Regions from separate parts of the Homo sapiens genome. Here region 1 is linked to region 2. Evidence: promoter capture Hi-C in 16 types of primary human blood cells and fetal thymus (Javierre and others, 2016). All regions are on one chromosome and are shown on one strand. Each heading gives the region's core, a stretch centred on a gene start or on the middle of the fragment in contact. The rest is flanking DNA. Distances are from core to core; before and after follow the strand shown. Region 1 holds the start of RAB36 (RAB36, member RAS oncogene family). Region 2 holds the start of GUCD1 (guanylyl cyclase domain containing 1).

What was found. The method cuts DNA at HindIII sites, captures the fragments that hold promoters and counts their contacts. A CHiCAGO score of 5 or more calls a contact.
Region 1: the fragment with the promoter of RAB36 here is called in contact with the fragment with the promoter of GUCD1 in region 2 in 1 of 17 cell types (non-activated CD4 T cells); the score reaches 5.3 in non-activated CD4 T cells.

Annotation. Positions count from the first base shown.
Region 1 is chr22:23,144,009-23,147,041 of GRCh38, reverse strand. RAB36 (RAB36, member RAS oncogene family) reads right to left here and starts at 1,565. Exons shown (of 11, transcript NM_004914.5): 1 at 1,491-1,565; 2 at 357-437. The coding sequence starts at 425. It also overlaps a transcript of RSPH14 not described here. RefSeq lists a silencer at 1,743-1,812. The HindIII fragment of the contact is 8,574 bases long and covers 1-2,641 here.
Region 2 is chr22:24,553,670-24,556,678 of GRCh38, reverse strand. GUCD1 (guanylyl cyclase domain containing 1) reads left to right here and starts at 1,541. Exons shown (of 6, transcript NM_001284254.2): 1 at 1,541-1,730. The coding sequence starts at 1,688. It overlaps SNRPD3 (small nuclear ribonucleoprotein D3 polypeptide), which reads right to left and starts at 680. Exons shown (of 4, transcript NM_004175.5): 1 at 608-680. RefSeq lists an enhancer at 873-972 and a silencer at 1,433-1,792. The HindIII fragment of the contact is 4,396 bases long and covers 497-3,009 here.

The DNA of each region.
Region 1 (3,033 bases), core at 316-2,815, 1.4 Mb after region 2:
GCACCCAATATGAGAGGAATTACCTTCATGTAACAGTGGCTCTGAGAGGTTGAGTAATTTGCCCACAGCCACACAGCTTAATGACAGAATCAGAATGAAGGATTCACATCAAGGACTGTCTGGCTGCAAAATCCCAGCCCTTATAACCTCCAGGCCACACTGCTGCCCAGTGTCACCATTAACTTGCGGTCCCACCTTGGGCAGTCAGTGACCAGTCTCCCAGCTCCTCAAGGTAAATCTGACAATGGACAGACCTCCTTGATTCACCTGCTTTACTTCTAGGCATGAGTGTAGAGTGGGGAGAGCTGATGTGGCTGCAGGGCCAGGAGAGCACTGCAGACGTAATGACTCTCTACCTTAGGGAAGCTGGCGATGACACGGTCGCGGCTCACAGGGGGCCCCAAAGGTGTCAGGGAGGACCTCATTCTTCCACAGTCCTGTGGACCCAACCAGGAGAAAGACAGTTAAGGAGCTGTGCAAATACCTGGGGATTCACCCATGAGTTTCCACCTAACTTTTCATCAGATCCAGGCTGGGTGCAGTGGCTCATGCCTGTAATCCCAGCACTTTGGGAGGCCAAGGTGGGAGGATCACTTGGGCCCAGGAGGTTGAGACCAGCCTGGGCAACAAAGTGAAACCTCAGTCTCTACAAAAAAAAACCAAAAAAATTAGCAGGGCATGGTGGCCTGTGCCTGCAGTCCCAGCTACTTGGGAGGAAGGTGGGAGGAATGCTTGAGCCTGGGAGGTCAAGGGTGCAGTGAACCGTGAAGGTGCCACTGCACTCCAGCCTGGGTGATAGAGTAAGACCTTGTCTCAAGAATTATAAATAAAACCAGATCCAGGCTTCCCTCTCTGTCAGGAATATGGGGCAGAGGCCATTTCTCTCAATCTGCATACAGCAGGCAGCATGGTATGGGGGAACCAGGCCTGCCCCACCCTGCCTGGGAGTCAGAAGACCTGGGTCTCCCCTTGACAGGTGTCTACCAAGGAGGAGCTCCCCTCTGAGCTTACCTTACTGGGCTGTGAGGCATGGCACAGCTCAGGCAGTGGAAGTAGAGTGGGGAGGGGTCTCCTGCTCCCAGTCTGCAAAGGACGAAGGCTCTAGGTGGGCCTGGGGGCCTTAACTTTCAGCCAACTAGGCCTTTTCCCTGAAAACCCTCACTTCACCAGGCCTCTGACTCCTCGAGCCTCCTCAACAGCCCCTCTGTCTCCTTTTTCTGTCCGGACTCCTCTCCAGGCTGGGCTGGGGTGGTCCTGGCGGAGTCCGGTTGTCTTCCCGCATCTGACCTGGCTCTCCTCCACAACCAGCGCGGGCCTGGCCCAGAGTTTGCGCTCCGGAAATGAGGACGCCCCGGGGCCGCAGGCCGCTTTCAAGTTATAGGGGCGGGAAGTGGGCGCGGACGCTGTGCCCTCGCGGCCCTGGCCTCGGGATGTGCCAGCACGGGGTTGGGTGACCGGGAGGGTCGGACAGAGTGGGCGAGCTGACTCACCAGCGATGGCTGTGAAAGCTGGGGCTCCGCGCGGCCTGGTCCGCCTGAGCCAGCGGCGGCGATCACCATGGCAACGAGAGCCACGCGGGACCTGCGGGCTACACGAATCGTCGACGTCGTGGGCGGGGTCTGCGTTGGACTGGCAGCGGCGCGTCCAAGCATCCAGCTTGCACCGGCGATCACCATAGCAACGAGAACCTGCCTGGAGTCTGGGCGGGGCTGGCAGCAGAGAGACTCCTGGACACCCTGGAGAGCCGGAGATCACCATGACAACAAGGGCGGTGCTGGATGGGTGGGCGGTGGGCGGGGCTATGGAGGCCCGGGGGCGGAGCCTGAGCCCTGGGTGGGGCTGACCGTGGAGAGATTCGCGCAGGTTCTGGTGATCAGCTCGGCTGGGAGAGGTTGGGCGGTTATGGCATAAGAGCTCCTGATGTGGTATTGATGTTTAATTGGAGTCAAGCACCCTGCAGCTGCAGAAGATAGACCTGCCTACCATCTACTGACCTTAGTCTGCATAGTTCTGAATCCAGTGCTGTCTGAATATCATATGCCTGGCTTCTAGAGCTCACGGTACAAAATTAATTTCCTTAATAAAAAGCTGACCTGAGTCAGTGATTTCCTCTGAACTAGTTTCGGTTTGGAAAGTTAGCTGTTTTGGGCTAGATGGCCTCTTGTGGCCCTTATAAAACCGTGGAACCAGCTTCGAAGTCCGGGGTTCAGTTTGAGAACCTACTTAATTCAGCTCCTTAACTTTTCTGCATCACAATATGGAAGCCTTGGTACACAGATCTAACTCAGTCATCTTCAATTCAAAGCTAAGTGTGCTGGAGGCTGGTGTTTGATGTCTTTTTTTTTTTTTTTTAAAGAGATGGAGTCTTGCTATGTTGTCCAGGCTGGACTCGAACTCCTAGGCTCAAGGAATCCTCCCGCCTCAGCCTCCCCAGTCCTTGGGACTACAGGCAAGGGCCACCACACCTGGCTCTGTTTAATGTCTTTTAGTGAGTTTCACTGCTAAGGTTGAGGCTTAGGGGGTGAACTTAGGTGAGTTGTTCCACCTTCCGCACCTCAGTTTACTCAACTATAAAATAAACGCAACTATCTATTTCAATGGATCACCTGAGATGGTGAAAGTGCTTTTATACTGTAAAGCTTGATTCAAGTCCATTAACTATTCATTTGTCCTACATGTACTGAAAGCTTCCTGGTATATGCCTAGCACTGGGGAGACAAGGAAAGAGAACGGACATGGTGTCCACCCTCAGGGAAATTGGAGTCCACTGCGGGAAGCAGAGAAGTAAATAGAGAATTAGGGGAAGGGAGTGTGCCAATGGGATTTAGGAGAAGGGAAGATTAAGCTGTGGGGTCACTTACTAATTTGGATTTGGGGATTTGGCAGGAGCTAGAGATCACCCTGAACTCCTCCTTTAGCTGTTTTTTTTTTTTTTTTTTTTTTTTTTTTGAGATGGAGTCTCACTCTGTCGCCCAGGCTGGAGTGCAGTAGTGTGATCTCGGCTCACTGCAATCTCCGCCTCCCGGCTCAAGC
Region 2 (3,009 bases), core at 292-2,791:
TAGCAGCATTTATTTACAAAATGGATAGAACGTAAGGTTTAGAAGCAGAGAAACTTGTTAAAACTTCTGCAACAGTTAAAACTGCTGCAACAGTGTGGAAAGCATGAGGGGACCATTGCCTGAAAGGGGACTGGGGCAGAGATACAAAGAACTTTTTAAAAAATGACCGGCTGGGCGCGGTGGCTCACGCCTGTAATCCCAGCACTTTGGAAGGCCGAGGCCGGTGGATCCCTTGAGCCCAGGAGTTCGAGACCAGCCAGGGCAACATGGTGAAACCCCGTCTCTACTTAAAAAAAAAAAAACAAAAAAAAACTCATAGGATTTGGGGGAAGGAGATAGTCAATCAGAAATGACTTCGAGATTACTGCCTGGAAGCTTTGAAAAACACTCACCTGGAGAGATACAGAATGTGAGAAGCATGCACGTTGAGGGGAAAGCTAATGAACTTACTTCCAGGAGCTAGTGAGGCGACGCTGATGTTTGGGTGGCCCAAGCTTCCCGCTTTCTTCCCTCCCCGAGCCCCGCAGAGTTCCATGCAGCAAGTCTTTCTCCAGCCCCTGGCCCCTCACAGGCGCCTCGACCTCCCCTCGCCCGTCCCCAGCCTCACCGGCTCTGGCCTACTTTTCTTCTCTTCGGTCCGCTGCGAAAGATGCTACGGCGAAGGCGTGAGTCAAGCGAATGGCGGGCCTAACACCCAGAATTCCACTCTTTCCCAAAATGCTGCGCGCAGGGCCCGCCTCCTTCCTTTCCCCAGTGTTGAGCGCGGTCTCGCCTCCGCTTCCTCCTCACTCCGCCTGCCGGCTGGGAAACTAGGGCACCAGTACGATAGTTCCGGCACCGGAAAAGAGGGCTGATGACTGGGCCCGGGGGCCGCCGCAACGACCCTTGGGGCCGGCAAAGAGCCAGAGAGGGTGCTCACACTTCCAAGCACCCCACACCAAGGACAGGCTGGACGGCAAGGCGGAGACGCGGGGCTTGGGCCCTCAGACCGGGGACAGCAGGAGGTTGGGCCAAGGGCCAGGACTTCCCGTCACAATTTCATTTGTTGATCCCGGCACCGCCAGGTAAGGGGGGCCCTGAGTGAGGCTAGGTATCTGGTACGGATAAAGTTAGGTATAGAGTAGAGCGGCTGCCCGCTCAGGGTTATCCCTAAAGACAGTTGGAGGAGAGTTGCTTGGGGCCTCGGGGATGCACTGGGCGGGATCAGGGCTTACACCTAGGACTGGCAAAAGAGCGGGACCCGGCAGAGGCGGGGCTTGCCGAAGGGACGAGCCTCTATTCAGGAAATGCACGAGCTTTGGGGCGGGGCTCAAAGAAAGGGGCGGGGCTTCCGGGGCCCGCGTCCTGGTGAGCTGCGCGTCTGCGCGAGGATTGGGCGAGAGGGTGGGGCCACTCAACGCTGAGGCGGCGAATGGCCGGAGCAGACTTAAATCAAGAGGCTGGGGACCTCTAAGATCAAAGTTTGGGGCGGGGCCTAAGGAGGGGGCGGGGCCTCCAGATTCGAGACCTGGAAGGGCTGGGGCGGCGCTTGGGGCGGCCCAGCCGCCGCCTCCCGTTCTCTCCTCCGCAGCGGCGGCGGTGGCGGAGAAGGAACTCGACACGCACCGACCGCCCTCCCGCCCCAGCCGAAGCGGAAGCTGTAGCCCGCTCTGGGCCGGGGCCATGGGCGCCCCGCGCCGCCCGGGTCATGAGGACGGAGGCGGAGGCAGCGGGGCCGCCGCTCGAGCCCGGTCAGTGCCTCTCTGTGGGCCCAGTCTTCACCCTAGGAACGAAAGGGACCCCTCCCTAGCGCGGGGCAGGGTCCAGTCGCGCGACCTTGGGCCGACTCCCGCCTCGCCCCCACACCCGCCTGGTTCCAGTCAGTGGGGGTTTCCTGACACTCGCAGGATTGCGACCCTTGTCAGCATGGTGGGAAGGTCCGGGTAGCAGGGGCACCACCTTCCCCAGAAGCGAAAAGTCCTGCTGGAGCCGCCTTGGGAGCTCCCATGCCTTGGGAAACCGTGGAGGACTGAGGCTGGGAAGGGCAGGAAACTGGCCGAGAGCACCGAGCAATGGAAGGGCCAGTGCCCTGGCCTCCGAGACTCGGCGTTTTGTCTTGCTCTTGTTCTTCACTTTCGTTCTCTCTGCCACGCGGTAGCCTGAGCCCCTTTGGGGCGGAGACCCGGACTGGTATTCAATGTCTTGGCCGTTAGTTTGCTTGCCCAAGACGTAGGGGAGGGGGAAGACGTGATTCCTGTCCTGCTGAAGGCGCGGGGTTGATGACAAACGGAGTTCTAGCTAGTAAACTCTGAAGTGAAGTGCCAACTGTGGAAGAGGTCAACAGCATGTGGGACCCTGACCTTCAGGTGTCACTCCCAGGGAGTGTTCCCTTTTGTGTCTGCTGTGTGGAGTTGGTGGGGGATTTACAACCCTCCTCCTCCAGTTGTCTAGCCCTGTGGTCTGAGACAAGATACTTGCCTTTCCTGAGCCTCAGAGGAGGAATGGCTTACATTCACAGGGAGTGTTCTATGAGGCAGGCGCGCGCTGCGTGCAGTTGTTTACATGCAGTGCCTCATTAATCCTCATAACGAACCAGTGAAGTAGGTGCCCACTGTGATTTGCACTTTTGCAGCTGAGCAGACTGAGTCTGAGATGGGTTAAGTATTAAAGGCTAGTGCACTGCTTGCCTTCCTTAGTGACAGCCACTAACTGAGCTCAGGCCAGGGCCTTCCAGGCAGCCCTTTGGCTCCAGGCAGCAACGTCTGGCTGTGGCTTTGTGTTTAGAAGGCTAAAGCTGTTATGGGGACAGATGCCAAGGCCTCGCCTAACCTTATCACCCCCAACATGAGCACCTCTAGGTCCGATCCGCCCTTGCCGAGGCTGGAGATGGCCCTGTGGGGCCTGCCAGGCCTCAGGATCAAGGAGTTCTAGAGCGCAGGGCAAGAGGAGGAGGCGCAGCTGAGTCTCTGAGAGAGAGCTGCTGTCTTGTGCCACATTTTATAGCTGGACATGGAAAGGCATGGACAGTCA